Linked DNA regions of Homo sapiens: regions 2, 3 and 4 are each linked to region 1. Evidence: promoter capture Hi-C in 16 types of primary human blood cells and fetal thymus (Javierre and others, 2016). All regions are on one chromosome and are shown on one strand. Each heading gives the region's core, a stretch centred on a gene start or on the middle of the fragment in contact. The rest is flanking DNA. Distances are from core to core; before and after follow the strand shown.

What was found. Contacts are between HindIII fragments. The CHiCAGO score rates a contact against its expected background, and 5 or more counts as called.
Region 2: a contact is called between a fragment that was not itself captured here and the fragment with the promoter of COX16 in region 1, in 1 of 17 cell types (monocytes). The highest score is 5.2, in monocytes.
Region 3: a contact is called between a fragment that was not itself captured here and the fragment with the promoter of COX16 in region 1, in 2 of 17 cell types (naive CD4 T cells and monocytes). The highest score is 5.5, in naive CD4 T cells.
Region 4: the fragment with the promoter of PALS1 here is called in contact with the fragment with the promoter of COX16 in region 1 in 1 of 17 cell types (monocytes); the score reaches 9.1 in monocytes.

Annotation. Positions count from the first base shown.
Region 1 is chr14:70,357,444-70,361,817 of GRCh38, reverse strand. COX16 (cytochrome c oxidase assembly factor COX16) reads left to right here and starts at 2,135. Exons shown (of 4, transcript NM_016468.7): 1 at 2,135-2,299. The coding sequence starts at 2,231. The region is part of intron 3 of SYNJ2BP-COX16 (SYNJ2BP-COX16 readthrough); the gene reads left to right. It also overlaps the pseudogene RNU2-51P. RefSeq lists enhancers at 1,556-1,645, 2,106-2,415. The HindIII fragment of the contact is 4,146 bases long and covers 1-2,670 here.
Region 2 is chr14:66,493,648-66,498,021 of GRCh38, reverse strand. All of the region lies in intron 8 of CCDC196 (coiled-coil domain containing 196), which reads right to left. Among named protein-coding and RNA genes, the nearest start is that of CCDC196, 9.5 kb to the right of the region's middle. The HindIII fragment of the contact is 3,219 bases long and covers 847-4,065 here.
Region 3 is chr14:66,512,793-66,517,166 of GRCh38, reverse strand. All of the region lies in intron 1 of GPHN (gephyrin), which reads right to left. Among named protein-coding and RNA genes, the nearest start is that of GPHN, 6.8 kb to the right of the region's middle. The HindIII fragment of the contact is 5,208 bases long and covers 1-4,374 here.
Region 4 is chr14:67,239,055-67,243,428 of GRCh38, reverse strand. It overlaps PALS1 (protein associated with LIN7 1, MAGUK p55 family member), which reads right to left and starts at 1,994. Exons shown (of 15, transcript NM_022474.4): 1 at 1,896-1,994. It overlaps LOC124903330 (a long non-coding RNA gene), which reads left to right and starts at 2,020. Exons shown (of 2, transcript XR_007064217.1): 1 at 2,020-4,139. It also overlaps a transcript of GPHN not described here. RefSeq lists a silencer at 1,413-2,382 and an enhancer at 2,363-2,642. The HindIII fragment of the contact is 3,073 bases long and covers 827-3,899 here.

The DNA of each region.
Region 1 (4,374 bases), core at 886-3,385:
TGTCCCCTGACAATCTGCCGGCATACCTGTAATTCCTACTGTTCACAGTTACTCCTTCAGGGCCATTTCAAGGTTCTCAATAAATGCTTATTTGAGTGATTGAACAAACAAGATACTAAAGACATAGAGTGCCTTAAATTGGATAGATGCCTTATCTGAAAAGTGTAAGATTATCGACTCTAGCATTATTTTGAATATATGTATACGATTTAACCCATTATTAGCTACTACTTAGGTGCCGGGTTTTGATGGAGTAGTATCCAGTAGGCTGATGTTTTATGTAGTGAAGATGTAGGAAAACGCTAGAGTTTTAGAGCAGCGCCTTTGGCTTCTAGGATCTTAGGGAAAGTAGGAGATGTGATACGCTTAACTAACCTGGATGCCACGTGAGATTTATTTATTTATTTTTGAAACAGGGTCTAGCTGTGTCACCCAGGCTGCAGTGCAGTGGCATGATCACGGCTCACTGTAGCCTGGACCTCCTGGGCTCAAGTGATCTTCCCACCTCAGCTTCCCAAGTAGCTGAGACCCCACCATGCCTGGCTAATTTATTATTATTATTATTATTTGTAAAGATGGGGTCTTGCTTTGTTGCTCAGGCTGGTCTCGAACTCCTGGGCTCAAATGATCCTCCTGCCTCAGCCTCCCAAACTGCAGGTATTACAGGCATGAGCCACCATGCCTGGTCTGCATGAATTTTGAAATATCAAAAGGAAGTAAATAAGATGGGAGAGATGCACCGTTCCTGGGTTTCTGGAGGTATTGAAATACAGGTTGATGTGTAGAGTGGTGGAGCAAACTCCTATTCCATCTCCTTGCTTCAAAAACCCATTTAACATATTTTCCTTGGATAGAGAATGTGTCAAATATTAAACTGTTAAGAACAGATACTACACTTGATCTTAGCCAAAAGGATAAGTTTCACTGGAGTAGCCTGCAGTAGATCTGGAGCTTCTCTTCTGGAGACCACTTAAGAGGCTACTTTAATAGGTGAAAAGATGATAAGGAATTAAAAAAAGGAACATTTCAGTGGTAACAGAGAGGCAGGGACAGATGGAAATATTTCAGGAATAGCATGGAAGATAATATTCCGCATCACCTGCACTCTGATTCACTCTGGTAAATGGGACACGTGGGGGATCGGCTTCCTAAGCTATCCCAGTACTTCACACATGTTTGTTTCTGTGCCCATGAAATCGCCAGTGTCTTTAAGGTAAGGATCATATATTTTTATCTGTGTTCCTAGAACCCTTTCAAAGACACGCTGAAAGGTGGCCTGTATGGTTGCTGAATCATTGGTAAATAGACATTCATAAATGACTAAAGATTACAGGTTATCTCACAGTAAAATCATTAGCATTAAAAGTTCAGTAATGACTGATGAGACACTACACTGATTACATTTCAACCTAATCTTTCAAAAGCGATTTATTTTTAAAAGTCTCCATTAAACTGGCAAATTCCTCATCCCACAAATAGCCATAAAGACTGGAGTACCAGCTTCAAAATACTTTTTTTTCTTTTTTCTTTTTGAGACGAAGTCTCGCTCTTGTTCCCCAGGCTGGAGTGCGATGGCGCGATCTCTGCTCATTGCAACCTCCGCCTCCCGGGTTCAAGCGATTCTCCTGCCTCGGCCCCCCAGTAGCTGGGATTACAGGCGCCTGCCACCACGCCCGGCTAATTTTTGTATTTTTTTTTTTTAATAGAGACGGGGTTTTACCATGTTGACCAGGCTGATCTAGAACTCCTGACCTCAGGTGATCTACCGGCCTCGGCCTCCCAAAGTGCTGGGATTACAGGCCACCCACCCAGGCCACCGCGCCCGGCCTCAAAATACTTTTTTCCTTAGCTGATTTTATCGAGTGGCTATGTGCCTAAGGGAGTGTTCTAAGCAGACGTTAGTTAGGACCCAGAACGTGGGAAGTACTGGTTTCCAGATCAATTTGGTGGTGATCGTAAACCGATTCAAATCTCTAAATCCCAATTGCACGCCGACGTTACGGAACCAAAAACGCTGACGCCCACATTTCTGGGCGGACGCACAAGTATGTTACGATGGCTCGATTGCTTTTGCCTAGCGGAAACCATTCACTAAGGACCGAGCACCAAATAACCAAGGAAAAGGAAGTGAGTTAAGGACGTACTCGTCTTGGTGAGAGCGTGAGCTGCTGAGATTTGGGAGTCTGCGCTAGGCCCGCTTGGAGTTCTGAGCCGATGGAAGAGTTCACTCATGTTTGCACCCGCGGTGATGCGTGCTTTTCGCAAGAACAAGACTCTCGGCTATGGAGTCCCCATGTTGGTGAGTGGAGTGAGGAGGATCTTCCGCAAGGGGTGGGACCCTCCTCCTTGGCAGGATCAAGACCTGGGAGGGAATCTGTAAAATGTGAAGTTAAGGGCTGGCACTCGGGCTAGGAAGGAGCTAGCGACGGGGTGAGAGCTTTCCTAAAAGCTCTTCCACCAGTCTTTTCCACACCCCCACTTCCCCGCCGCTGTCCCCCACTCCCGGTTGGATTTCAGGTGTACTAGGATCTGTCTGCTTGTGAGCGTGGCGTCTTTCCCATCGTCGAACGCGGTCATTGTTACTACCCTTGATTCACAGTTAAGTAAATTGAAGCTCAGAGAATTCAGTCAGAACCACACTTTAAGCCAAGTTTGGATGATTACTAAGCTTGCTTCCTCGCCCCCAACTTAGCTATGTTTTGACGATACTGTGGATCATTGGGACTAGATGTATTCCATTTAACTGCACGAATTCCTGGTATCTTTCTGTTTCATCTTTCTAGTTTGTGAATTAGCTTAATACTTAGAGTTGTGATGAACTAATAACACCTTGTGAATAAAGTGTTGAGTACGGTGCCTGCCACATTGTAGCCAGAATGATTGCTGTGTTATAATTTCTAAAGCACGTTGAAAACAGCTTCCGTGTTTATATGGTTTCATCCATATCCACACTGAGTTCCCTAAGGATGTCATGAAATGCAGGCTGAGGCTGGCTTAAGACAACCAGAGTTGAAATCCAGATGACTCTTATTTGCTTTTTGATTACGGGCCAGTTATTTTGCTTCAGCAAGCCTTGATGTGTTAGTAAATGAAATAATTAAAGCATATGAACAAAAGCTGCTTTTAAATACAGACTATATTTTTATTTTGTATGAATGTTGGCGCAGATGAAATTACCAGCTTTTCCATTTAAGCAGACTAAAGGAAAGAAGTGATCTTAGAAAGGTAATGGATATTTTACACAGTTTTGAAAAATCCACATTCATCAAATGTGGATTTTAGGAATCTCCAAAAGATTCACCCATTTGAAGTATCTGGGCCAAGCACGATGGCTCACACCTGTAATCCCAGTGTTAGGGGAAGCCAAGACAGGAGGATCGCTTTAGGTCAGGAGTTCCAAACCAGCAAGACCTCTGTCTCTCCAAAAAAAAAAAAAAAAAAAAAAATTGTTGTTTTTAGCAAATTCGATATTAGTATACTAATATATTCGTATATTAGTATATTCTTAGTTATGGAGCCATCACCACAATTTTAGAACATTTTCATTGCCCCCAAAAAAGCATCATAACTAATAGTAGTCACTTCCCATTTCTTCCTGCCTCTTAATGCTGGCCTGGTAAACCACTAATCTACTTCTACCCGTAAATTTGCTTATTCTGCACATTTCATATTAACACACTAATACAACGTGGGTTTTTTGTGACTGGATTCTTCCACTTAGAATGTTTTTAAGGTTCATTCACATTGTAACATATATCAATACTTCATTCCTTTTGATGGATATAATTCCATTGTTTGGATATATTTTATCAATTGATGAACATTTGGGTTGTTTCAATTTTTGACTATTATGAATAATGCTGCTATGAACATTTATGTACACGCTTTGTGTGGAAGTATGTTTTCATTTCTCTCAGGTAGGGAATATACCTAGACGTGGAATTGCTAGGTCATATGGTAACTCTTCAACTTTTTAGGATGTGCCAGATGTTTTCCAAAGTGGCTGCATCATTTTACATTCCCACCAGCAAGATATGATTTTCAATTTCTCCACATCCTTGCCAACACTTGTTATTGTCCATCTTTTGAATTATTACCCTTTCTAGTAGGTGTGAAGTGATACCTCATTGTGGTTTTGATTTTCATTTCCCTAACGACTTATTATGTTGAGCATCTTTTCAAATGTTTATTGGTCATTTGAATATCTTTTTGGAGAAATGTCTGTTCAAATCCTTTGCCCATTTTTTAATTGGACTATGTTTCCTTTTATTGGACAGAGGTTTCTTTAAAACCCAAAACCAACAAATCTGCCAGTCTTTGTCGAGAGGCTCTGCATGCTTTTTTGGGCATGCTTTCAACATTCAGCCATGCAAT
Region 2 (4,374 bases), core at 1,207-3,706, 3.9 Mb after region 1:
TGGGTATTAGCATTGATGTGAATTTTCTGATTTTTTTTTTTTAGAAAATAACTTTGTCAAACAATATTTCAGAAGTTGGAGTGGCAGACTGTTTTTCTGTTTACAGCTCATGTCCCACAGGGGGAAAAATCATTTAAGAATTATATGCAAGTAAATAAAGAAGTGGAATAATAAGTTATGTGTATATATACATACCCTCAGATAAACCAGATAGATATATTTCACAAAAATGGTCAATTATAGATAGTGGAGAATAAACAAAAGATAAAGGTGAAGATGGGGAAGAGAAAGAGGAAGCAGACAGAATGGTAGGCGTAGGGTGAGAAGGGAGGCAATGAAAAGGAGAAAAAGGGAGAATTATAGGGTGCTAAATACAACCGATAGTGAGTCTGTTCTAAATTAGAGTTGCCAGACTAAAATATGGGACTCCCAGTTAAATTTGAATTTTAATATAAACACCAAATAATTTTTCATATATCTCATGAAATATTTGGGACACACTTATACTAAAAATTATTTGGTGAAATTCAAATTTAATAGGGTATCCCTTTTTATTTGCTAAATATGATAACATTTTCCTAGACATACTGCTGCACTCCTGAGTGTGTGATGCCCACAAATTATGGAATCTGTTGTCACCCATTAAAATAATATTAATAAGGGTACAGTTTATTTTGTCAAGCTTCAAAATTTATATTTAGGAAGAAAAGAATTTTATTCTCCCCCTGAATTTCTGTGAAGTATTAAAGAAGTAAAAGAATGACTTAGTTTAGAAATTAACTTTATAACCTATTAATACCATAAACCTAACTTTGACATTCAAAAGGTTCAGGTTGCCTCAAAGCTTTAAAAAGCCTGTACTTGAAAGCAACAGTACTGCTTATCAAGGACCCGGATTTGAGCTAGCTGTGGTTTTCCGCCCCTGCCCTTCAGCATTTTAGCTTAACACTACTATTTTCCCTTCAGCAGCACCTGCTGAAGTGTAGTTCAGCCATCAGGAAGAATAATACTAAAGTGAAGTAAAGGTTAAAGCCAGGAAGAATGACTTGCTTTCAGAACAGAAGGAGTTAGAGAATAAATAAGGTCTCAAAGAGTATTCATTTCCCATTTCGCTGGGCTTTCATCTGAATTTATAAGTGTAGCATAATACTCACATCCAACGTTCAGGTTTTTCTCAGAAGAGCTCAAGGAAATGCTAAGAGTTGGTGGGGATTGAGGGGAGGAGAGAAAAGCAAAGCTATCAGAATCAAATGTCTTAACACAAGTTATATTATTGCTGAAGATAAACCTCTTCTTTAAACACCAGCAGATATGATGGGAAATTCAGTTGAATTTAGAGATTGCTTAGCACCTGTGCTCTCTAAGATAGGTGACTGCCAAAGTCCACAAACTTGCCTTCTGGACTCTATAGAAGTTAGGGAGGGCCTACAATACACCCTGAATCAAATTATAATTTTACACTGGTGGAAAAGTAAATCCTTTCAAATGTCACCTGTCTCCGGAAAGATCAAAAGTAAAGACTTCATCGTAGGTATAAACAGACTAAGTGAGGCAGCATGCCAAAGAGATAACATGGATGACGGTAATGCCACATCCTGGGCATCAAGGGAATTCACAAGTAGGGATTTGTTGAAGTGTAACAAAATCAGTAATATTAACACAGGATTGTATTTTGCCAGCTACACAGATCATACCACTGCAACTCAGCCAACCAGCACATCGGACAGTGGGAGGAGGAATTCTTGGCTAAGAGTACTGAGGTAAACTCTTCATCTACTTGGAAATGCTTAGAACAGAAAAGCCTGTACCCTGATTTACTGAGAGGTGTGTCCAAAATTATATTCCACCCTTTCTCTAAGACAGGTTTGTGCAATTCAATTCTTTTGAAACTAGAGAAAAAGAAACGCTGTCCTGTAACACTGTTAAGTATACAAACTTCAAATAAGCACCATCTTTTATTTTTTGTTTAGTGCTCATTTTTTCTTTTAGTGCCCCAATCGCCTGATTTATCTGTGGTGGAAGGGAACACTATTCTACAAGGATTGTGGAGGAAGTGGGCAGTGACTGTTTTTTGAAATGGAGATAACTGTAGTACAGGGAGTAAAATACTAGGTAAAAATTATGCAACAGAACACTGAGTTTAACATGGTCTAATCAAGGCTGCCAGTAATACACCTTGGTGCCAAAAGAGCATGTGATAAAACATCAAGAAATTTTTTTCTTTTTTCATTTGATACATGAATGTGGCACCTTTTGTCCTGAGAGTAATAGAAGACCGATCTCTCCCACAGCATTTCATGGTTCCTGAATTACCACTCTGTGGACTTGAAGCCTGGATGTGGTTGGTGCCACCTACTGGGCTAAATGCAGAGTTAACATTTTCTTACTGAACAAATTAACCTTAGGAGTATGCTTCTTCACTGAGAAGATTATACGTTAAACAGATAATAAATTTGGATTCAAATTATAGCGTTTAGATCTAGAAGAGGCATGAAAAGTCACATGCTTTTACACATCCATTTTGTAGCATAGTCTAGGGAATAAGGATTGAATATGGAGCCAAGAAGCCTGGCTTCTCTGAGCTTGTTTCTTGTTCTATAATACCTTTCATAGAGTCACTGTGAGGGTTGCACAAGGTATTAAGTTCTCAGCATGCTCCATGTTAATGTTGTTTGTATTTTTAAAACCTGAAATTAAATGACTTTTCCAAGTCATATAACTGGTGAGCCTCAGAGGAAGGCCTGCAACTCATGTATCTGAGTCTTAAATTCAGTGCTTTTTTCCTTAAATTACAATTTGCCAAAATTTGATGATGAGATGATTTTAGGTGGCAATTGGGATAAATTTCGGTGTTGGGACAAGGCATTAAATACTATAAATCACAGTGAGAAAATTATTGCCTTTTCAATTATTTCAAACTTGATGGCATCAAGGAGAAAGTTGCAGTTTGGTGCTGGCTTTCTTTAAAGTTCTCTATGTCTTTTTTTTTTTTTTTTGATACGAAGTCTCGCTCTGTCACCTAGGCTGGAGTGCAGTGGCGTCATCGCAGCTCACTGTAACCTCTGCCTCCCAGGTTCAAGCGATTCTCCTGCCTCAGCCTCCTGAGTATCTGGGACTATAGGTGTGTGCCACCACACCTGGCTAATTTTCTGTATTTTGTTGTAGAGATGGGGTTTCACCATGTTAACCAGGATTGTCTCAATCTCCTGACCGCGTGATCCACCTGCCTCAGCCTCCCAAAGTGCTGGGATTACAGGCGTGAGCCACCATGCCTGGCCAAAATTCTGTATGTCTTTCTAATCTCACTTCCTAATGGAGATAAAATAGATCTCAGGCTTATGTATTTTTCTAGAACATTAAAATCTTGTTTTTTGTGTATTTATTATTAAGTTTACCTTCTATTGTGGAAAACTCTATTGATTCTTCATTTAAAATAGTAATATAAATTTTATTTTCAAGGAATGCATTTAGGAAACTAAAGAAGTCAATGTAAACAACAAATATTGAATAAATAATAGTCCAGGTGATACACAAAGTTGGAAAATACTACAACACCTACCATTAAGAAATTATTACCAAATAGGTTGGTAATAACCTCTTTACATAATTAGTTTTAAAATCCTTTATGAAGAGAATATTTGTTTGCTTTTAAATAATCAAATACTAGAGGTGAAAAAATAGGCCACATAACCAAAATATAGGACTCCATTAGATTTCAAATCCACTTGGGCTCAAACAAACCTATAGAGTTTGAATACATGTGTTAGAAAATGAAACTGGCCCATAATTAGTGCTAAATGAATGCAGAATCAATTTAACACATTGATCCATTGCCTGTGGCTACATTAATTTGTGGTAACTAAGCCGTATAGTACCCTATCATTTAATTCTCCAGGAACATAAAAGGAAAGGAGAGAAAAGAAGATGTGGATCTGTGGCTGTTCCAATTCAAAGTTGATTCAATGTTTTACATGCAAGGAGAAAAAATATCTCCTGAGACAATCAAGTTGAATGGAACCCTTATTTACTAATTTAGACTTAATTTGATTCTGGAGCTAAAAAGCTTTTGGCTCTTTACCATATAGATCCCTTGAGATGACCTTCAGCTAATTTTGAATGAAGTAAAACAGGGACTTGTCTGTCTTCCTCATAACCCTCTTCTCTTCTGTCTTTTAAATTTGTATCTTAATGATTTAATACTGCTTCTTGTTGCATTCCAGGATTCTTTCCAATTTTATGCTGTCCAATTCTTATTAGAACATAAATTGAAAGAAAAATATGCATAGAATACTGCCTGAAGGATAGTCAGTTCAGTCTTACTAGTTTTCTAAAATTTACCTATGGATCAAGCCAGACCAGAGAGTCTTATGTACC
Region 3 (4,374 bases), core at 562-3,061, 3.8 Mb after region 1:
TATTCAGTTTCTTCTTTTTTTTTTTTTTTTTTTTTTTTTTGAGATGGAGTCTCACTGTGTGGCCAGGCTGGAGTACAGTGGCACAGTCTTGGCTCACTACAATCTCTGCCTCAGGGGTTCAAGTGATTCTCCTGCCTCACTCCCGAGTAGCTGGGATTACAGGCACACACCACCATGCCTGCCTAATTTTCATATTTTTAGTAGAGGTGGGGTTTCACCATGTTGGCCAGGATGGTCTCAATCTCCTGACTTCGTGATCTGCCCGCCTCAGCCTCCCAAAGTGCTGGGATTACAGGCGTGAGCCCCTGTGCCTGGCTCAGTTTCTTATTTATAAGATATCCAACAGTTCTTAACCATTAATTAGACTTTAAAGATTATTAATTTCAAGTGCACATTAATGTGTTTTTTAAAAGAACAAGAAATAATTAAAAGAAACATTTCATTTTTACTTAGCATTCAAATTGCACTTAATCTCTTTCACTCATAGAGTGGATTTTTATTAACATTTACAGCATCAGGCAGACACATTTAGCCATGATCCTGAAATCGTGAAGTACTATACAAAGAAATAAAGCTATTTATTATAGTAATATCCACTCATTTTCTGATGCCCTGAACCCAAAAGTGAAAATATGTGCCTTTAGACCCTCACTTCAAATCTAACTGGATGTAATATCACAAATAATTCTTAGCAAGTTTATGTGGTTCCCAAGGATATAGTAGATTAGAAGGGCAGGGCAGGAAGAGGAAGGGCAAGTGGGTAAAACCTGAAAAGCATATACGTTATGGAAACATACTATCATGTCACAGTAACAGATATTCAGAATAGAATGTAGAAATATAATTGCTGGCCAGGCACGGTGGCTCACATCTGTAATCCCAGCACTTTGGGAGGCTAAGGCAGGTAGATCACTTGAGGTCAGGAGTCCAAAACCAGCCTGGCCAACATGGTAAAACTCTGTCTCTACTAAAAATACAAAAAAAAAAAAAAAATTAGCCAGGCATGGTGGCAGGCGCCTGTAATCCCAGCTACTCGGGAGGCTGAGGCAGGAGAATCACTTGAACCCGGGAGGCAGAGGTTGCAGCAAGCTGAGATCGCACCACTGCATTCCAGCCTGGGCGACAGAGTGAGTCCGTCTCAAAAAAAAAAAAATGTGTATCAAAAAAATGGCTTGACATAAAAACAGTTTTGGTGCTTGTACTTGTTATCTACTTAAAAAATAAAATATAAAAGCACCTTATTCCTTGAAACATAAATGAAGCATGAATGTGTCAATATTCAACTTGACTGAATAATGTTTTCACAGTAGTGCTAGAATATATGCTTCAAGACAAGAAAGATTGAACTGTCTTAATCACTATTGTATCCTTCACTTAGCACAGGGCCTTGGTACATAGTAGGTGTTGAATACTGAATACATTATTTCATTTCTCACATTAACCCATCAAGGTAAACACACTTACCCCCATTTAAAGGTAAGGAAACTGTGGTAAAATGTGCTTATCTTGAAAGTGGGAGAAGAGGCATAACTTTTGACTCCTAACAGTGTTATTTTGATCACCAGAATCAACATTAACAGCATTTTCAGAATTTTTTTACCTATAATTTCAAATTTTTAGTTTTTAGATATCAAATTTCATTAGTCTAAAATTATCCTCACACAAACAACACCCAACTAAAACAATATACAAAATTTAATGCTATAAAACATCTCAAACACACATCGTTATAAATATCATCCTATTACCAGAAAAACATACCTTTTAAAAACTAATCAACTTCACTCCATCTACCCTAAACTATCCTTTTAGTAATAATAGCCAAGTTCTGGTTTACCTAAATGTTTCTTAAGGTACTATATAAATTTTACACCACCCAATTTTTTTATTAAACACCTTCTATCCAATTACTTCATTAACAGATGCTATGACAAAAGGGCACAAAAGAAGTAAAGAACATAACCATATATCTCAAGAACTTTAAAATCTACTTTGAATAAGACATGTATACACGAAACTGTGGCAAGTTGCTCCCAAAGCAACATACAAAGAGGAAGGAACCAAAAATAACTGAGTATCTCATCTGAAAATGCTAGGCATTTTCATATGCGTTACCTCTATTAGTTCTGAAAACTTTGTAAAGTAGATATTGCCATCTTCATTTCGGAGAAGAAAACTGAAATTCAGAGAGGTGAAATGACTTCCCAAAATAAAGGGCAAATGAGGGTCTGAAGTCCAAGTCTATCTGACTCCAAAGTTCTATCCTTTTTAAGCTACACCATGCAGCCTCCCACATATAGATTACAGGGTATAGACAACATTTATAAACGTTGTAAGGAAAACAAAGAAAGACATCATTGAAGAGAATAATTCCTAGGAAATATTTTATTGACAAAGTCAGTCCTGAGCTGTGTCTGAAACCTAAGTGTAAGATTGCTAATAACAGAAAGATTAATGTCACAAAAATTTCTAAATAAAAAATCTAAATATTTTCCTTCTTTGATCATTATTCTATTTCTTATTCTCTTGCATTTTTATGTATAACCTACCCTCCCCTATAATCATTCCCATTATAAAGACAGAAAAAAATTAACTAGGTCTAATATCCTATATTTCTCTTTCCTGCTGGTCAGAATGCTAAAAGATAGAAACATATACTGCCATGAGAGCCTTGAAGTGATCTTAGAGAGTGATTTCTTCATTTTAGTGGTAAGAAAAGCTGAGAGAGGGTTACACAATATACTGAAGGTTACAAAACTTTACTAGCCAGAATAGTATGAGAACATAGTTCTTACAGTGTTCTTTCTATGATTCAGTGCTCCTTAAATTTTTTGCCATGAAGTGTCAATAACGCAGAAGAATGACGAGATCTGGAGCTCACTTGAAATATAATGGGCTCACTTGAAATTTCTTTGAAGTTTCTAATTTCATCTTAAAGCCTCATATGAATTCTATACTTTGTGCCTAATTTACTTATGCTTATCTTAATATTAAAGTTATTTAAATTAATACCATCAAGTAAAATTGGTACTTAAAAAATTATTATGTTTGTTCCTGTGGCTTAGATTCTAAGCCTTATAGGTATCCCTTGACACAATGTCATGTACTCCAGTTTGAGAAGAATGCCCCAAATTATGGTGACAATTCCTTCATCATATTTCATTTCCTTGCTGCTTTATTTTTCAAATTAAGAATTCTTTTTAAAGCATGGTAAATTTAATTACACTCTTTCGAAATGTATAAATACTGACAAAGCTACTGTTAAAATTGTTGGGGTTGTTTAAACACAAAATTTTCAAGAAGCTCTACTTAGTTAAAATTAATTTATTAAAAACAATTTAGTTTATAAATTCATTAAAGAACCTGGATAGAACTTCTACCTAGCAATACTTCATTAAACATTTCCTTTTTGAGAGGTCACTCAAAAAAACTTTTTAATGAAAGTGAGATTAGATGCCATTCATATTGACTACAGTCCCAATTACTTTTAAGTAGGTTAAACAATCTTTTCTTCTTCCTTGGTATTTATCTTCTCTGCCCAGATGTGAAGGAAGAAATCCTTTGTGGTTTCACTACTTTCTTTTTCAGGATCTTTTTTTAATACCTTTCAAATTCCAAATATGCTTCATTATTCTTCAATCCTATTTACAGAAACAGAGTAATAGATTTTATCTATTTTACTGATTGTTTTTAAAAACACCCTGTTCAACTTAGCCAGGAATCTATCACTAGCAAGATTAAAAATAGACTCTTATTCGTCACTTCCTCCCTAAAAACATACTATTGACTTTCCACTATATGCCTGCTTGAAGTCAAATAGTTGTATGTGTTTTTAATGTATTTAAAACTCTTATTGTATAGCAACTAATACTTTTTCAAGTCCTTGGCCAGTGATGATAGTATTAAGTATATTCACTTTGAAGTCAAATTGTCACATGTGTTTTTAATATAGTTAAAATTCTTATTGTATAGCAACTAATACTTTTTCAAGTCTTTGACCAATGATAATAGTACTAAGTATATTCATTAGAAATTAATTTAACATTTTCCTACTTTGCCTAAACATTTAATTCTCTAATACATTGCTTTCAACAAAAAATTCACAAAATAACAATCTATTTCAAGAAATAGGATTCCTTTCAAGTCATATAGATCAATATTAAAAACACATATTAAAAAAACAGCTAAGTTAGGCAGAACATACAGTTCCACTTAGTAGGATTTAATAGTAATTTGCCTACTTAATGACATCTATTCTCAAAACAGATATAATATGTATATATCCTTATCAATAAATGGGCTTTTCAGAAAATAATATTGACACATAATATACCAGAACAGGTTTCAAGAATGTAAAAAAGTAAATGCTTAAAC
Region 4 (4,374 bases), core at 745-3,244, 3.1 Mb after region 1:
ATCACCTGAGGTCAGGAGTTCGAGGCCAGCCTGGCCAACATGGTGAAACCCCGTCTCTACTAAAAATACAAAAATTAGCCAGGTGTGGTGGCGAGCACCTGTAGTCCCAGCTAGTCGGGAGGCTGAGAGCAGGAGAATCACTTGAACCAGGGAGGTGGAGACTGCAGTGAGCCAAGATCGCGCCACTACACTCCAGCCTGGGCAAGAGCGAGACTATGTCTCACAAAAAAAAAAAGAAAAGACAATTATATTCTATATAAGCACATATGTCAAGATACTATTTTTTTCTAGACACTCTGAAATCAGAAAATATCAGAGAAATAGGGCATTTCAGTAAATAATATATAAAATTGATCAAATTTCTTGGAATGGGTGATAAATTTTATTTTTTCCATGACACAGCCCTCAGGAGATCCTGAAAACACGTGCCCCTGTGATGAGATTTTTAATCAAAATCATAATTCAAGATCATGTAAAAGCTAAACCCACTGTACTGACTTGGGTCACCCTCAAGTAGAACTTATATATTCTCTCCCGTTTTAACATTCTAAAACAAATTAATGTTAATCAATCCACCTTAATTTGTCAAGTTCAAGTCCGTCTTGCCAAAACTAATTCAGGTACATGGTAAAATTTACCAGATTTTTAAAGATAAAATAATGAATTGCTTTTCCTATTTTTGCCTGTTTTATCTATAAATCTCTTACATTATAATTTAATAGCTCATCCTGCCGCAAATAGAAAGCCTATAAAACCTATCCACAATAGCTATGTCCACAGGGATCTAGTAAAAAAAAAAAATCGTAGTTCTTAATTCAAGGAAGCTTATTTAATAAGTTTCATTACCACCAATACTTCAAAGACACCAATAACCAACACGTCATTTGTTCCTATTGCATAATTTAACAGGTTATTAACTTCTGGTATAATCCAAAAGCATAATTAGTAAACTATCATTAAAACATGATATTGCTTTTTTAAAAAATCAGAAATATTAACACCTTTCACTGCGTCAGTCAAATCAAAATTTCAAAATTTTTGTTCAACTGACTTTCCAAATCTAAATTCTTACTATTCTAAACGAGTATGGAGACAAAACACACACTCCATACTACATCTAAAAACTTCCTAGCCATCAGATTTTAATTTTAGCATAAACTGCCAAGAAAAACCTTTTGACCGAAACCTACATTCCGTACACATTACTGTATGTCAATCAACAGAAGGTGAGTTATGATCATTAGAAAGTTACATAATTTACTACAAAGATCGTTTAAAGCAAACTTCATTAAACGTAGGTTATAACAATTTACATGCTTCAAAGTTCAACGTGCAACCTTAAAGTATCAGAAACCATGAACAAAACTAGGCTTTTCTTTTAAAGTGGTCACAAGGAAGCAGGAACTGTTTGCGTGTTTAAGAACGCAATGAGCAGCAGAATACCAGCAGCTGAGTCAGGCAGAGGAACGCTGACTACATTCTGACTTCTAAAGGAAAGCGTTCCCTCGCCGATTTCCCAGACCCGGCCGGGAGAGTCCCGCGCGTCGCGACCTCGGAGAGAGGGCGCAGGGGGCAGACGACTCCCCGCCGCGCCCCCTGCACCTCGGGCTCGGCTGGCTGTGGCCCGCGCCAAGGTGCATGCCCAGCCAAGCAGAAGGAGCGGGCACCGCGCAGGCAGCGTTGCTCCGAGGGACAAAGGTTGGGCTCACACCCTCCACGGCCGCAGCTCGCGCGCCTGAGGAAGCCCGCCTGGCTGCCAGGGGTCTCCCGCTGGCCGGAGTTTGCGCAGCGTGTGGGGGAAGGGGAGCCCGGCCGCCCGCCCCTCCCCCGCCGCGCTCCCAGGGACCTGTTGATTAAGATCTCTACAGCCCAGCCGCCGCCGATCCGCCTCTTACCTCCACGCCTCGGCTCCGCGGAGCCTCCCGCCCCGGCCGCTCCTACGCACTGCAGAAGCGACAGCCCTCCGGCGGCCCTTGAAATTCCGGATAAAGAATCCAGAAACTCCCGACTCCCCACCTCAGAATCCTTAGTCCCCGCCCCCGCCCCACCGCCTGCCTCCTCCGTCGCCGCCGTCACCGCCGCAGCCGCCAGCAACTCCACTTCTAGACCGCGCGAGACCGGCCCCTGCGGCCGCCGCGAGACCGCGCACGCGCCCCCGGGACTCTGGCGCAGTGGGCGCGCGGATCCGAGTCCCACCCCGCCCGTGAGAGGCTGGCGCGGCTTGCCCAATCCCGAGCCGGAGCGGAGAGAGCGCCCGCTCATTGGTCCTCTCCGCAGCTCCAGCCGGGTGCGCGCAGTCGCGCGCCTCTAAGTCTAAAACGCGGACTGCTCCGGGCTAGCTGGCCCGGTAGAGCCCCTTCGGGATTTGGCCGGCGGGCTTTGTGGGGACGCGAGGCTTCCCTGGGTTTCTACATCCCTTGGCTCTTGTCTCTGGATGACGTATCCTGAAGAAAATCTGATTCCTCTTGAAGAGATTCCTCATGTCCTGTCAAGTTAGTCACCCAATCTAACATTTGTTTTTTTTAAAAAATGACATAAACACCTGGATGTGTGCAGTGTCCCGCAGAAGACTGCATAAAGCCAGCAGCTGCACTGATTTCTGAAAACCAGAAAGCAAGGATAGCAAGGACTAGAACTATTTCCCAGAAGTCTCCCGAAGGGACAGAGTTACGCAGATCAGCCCGTGCTCCGGGCATGGCTGGCGCCCTCGGGACCTGGATGTGCCACCCTTGGAATGGGGCAGGACTCAGGCGGGTGCGGGCGGAAGTCAGAGCAGATTGGAGGACGTTCTAAGGAGAAACACCAGCAATGTGTCTCGACACTTGCAATAAAAGCCCTCGGATGGTCTCTGTCTTGACAGTACCTTCCGAGCAAGCCCATTCCACATTTGAACACTTGCAAGGTTTGTTAATCGACCTCTCCTTCTATGAGGCCAAACTATGCCTGTGACTCCAGCCCGGGGGCACAGTTTCCCCCAGGGGCACAGTCCTCCCTCAAAGCCTTCGTATATGCCATTTCCATTTCTCTCGGTTTTCCTCATTTTGTCCCACGGTGTTTTTCCATCTCGCAATGTCCTCAGGTCCTGATTTTCAAGCTCTTTCACATTCTTCCCCATTACGCTCCTCTGGACAGCCTATGGGTTGTGGTGTCCCTCACTAAGGACACTGTGATGGCCTGAACGAAGCAAACCGTTGTTCCTGGTGGTGAAGATCTTTGGGGATGCCTACCCTTCCCAGATTTGTTATCCTTCTCAAATCTGATCAGCATTCTGTCCAAGTGTTTAATAAGACAGAGCGGAGGACAGAACTCTGCTGCATGCCACTAAAGACCTTAATGCTCCTGCCATCAAAAATTTCTCAGTAGGCTTCGAATACAGGTGGACGACACAACCGAACTGTCTTCTTGGCCCATATTCCTCCATAAAGATGCCATGAGAACTGGTGAAATGCCTAACTGAAATCCAGATAAAGTCTCCAGGATTCCTAGAAACTACTAGCCATACCCCAAAAGAAAAAACGGTTACTGTGTGTGACTTACTTCCTTTTCTAAGTTCTTTTGTTTTTGTTTTTGTTTGAGACGGAGTTTCGCTCTTTTGCCCAGGCTGGAGTAAAGTGGCGCAATCTCGGCTCACTGCAACCTCCGCTCCCCGGGTTCAAGCGATACTCCTCCCTCAGCCTCCCCAGTATCTGGGATTACAGGTGCCAGCCACCACGCCCGGCTAATTTTTGTATTGTTAGTAGAGACGGGGTTTCGCCACATTGGCCAAGCTGGTCTTGAACACCTGACCTCAGGTGATCCACCTTTCTCAGCCTTCCAAAGTGCTAGGATTACAGGCGTGAGCAACCGTGCCCCGCCTCTAAGTTCTTAAATATATAACATAAATAATAATTCAAGAAGCTTCCTCCAGCTCGTCAATGAATTCTTCTTTCTCTAGCTTATAATTTCTCATCCTTGGCACTATTGACATTTGGGCTGGATAATTCTTGTGGGGACTGTCCTGTGCATCATAGGATGTTTAGAAGCATCCCCAGCCTCTACCCACTACGTGCCAGTAGCATCACCCTCCCCAATGTGACAATCAAAAATGTCTCCAGACATCACCAAAGGTCATGGGGAGGAATGAGCAAAATCATCTTCAGGTAAGGACTGCAGATCTAGCTGTTCAAAGAAAGGACCTCTTTGGAAAGATAGTATATCTTTATCCGTAACTTCCAATCTCTTGGCCCCAGGCAGTTTTACAAAACAACAAAACACACACACAAAAAAAGCCTCCACCCAAATGAACCCGCCAAGTACCTAGCCTTGCTTCCTCAGCTGCTTAGATTCCCATACAGGACCCCACCATAATAAAATAATTATTAGTATGAGTGTGAG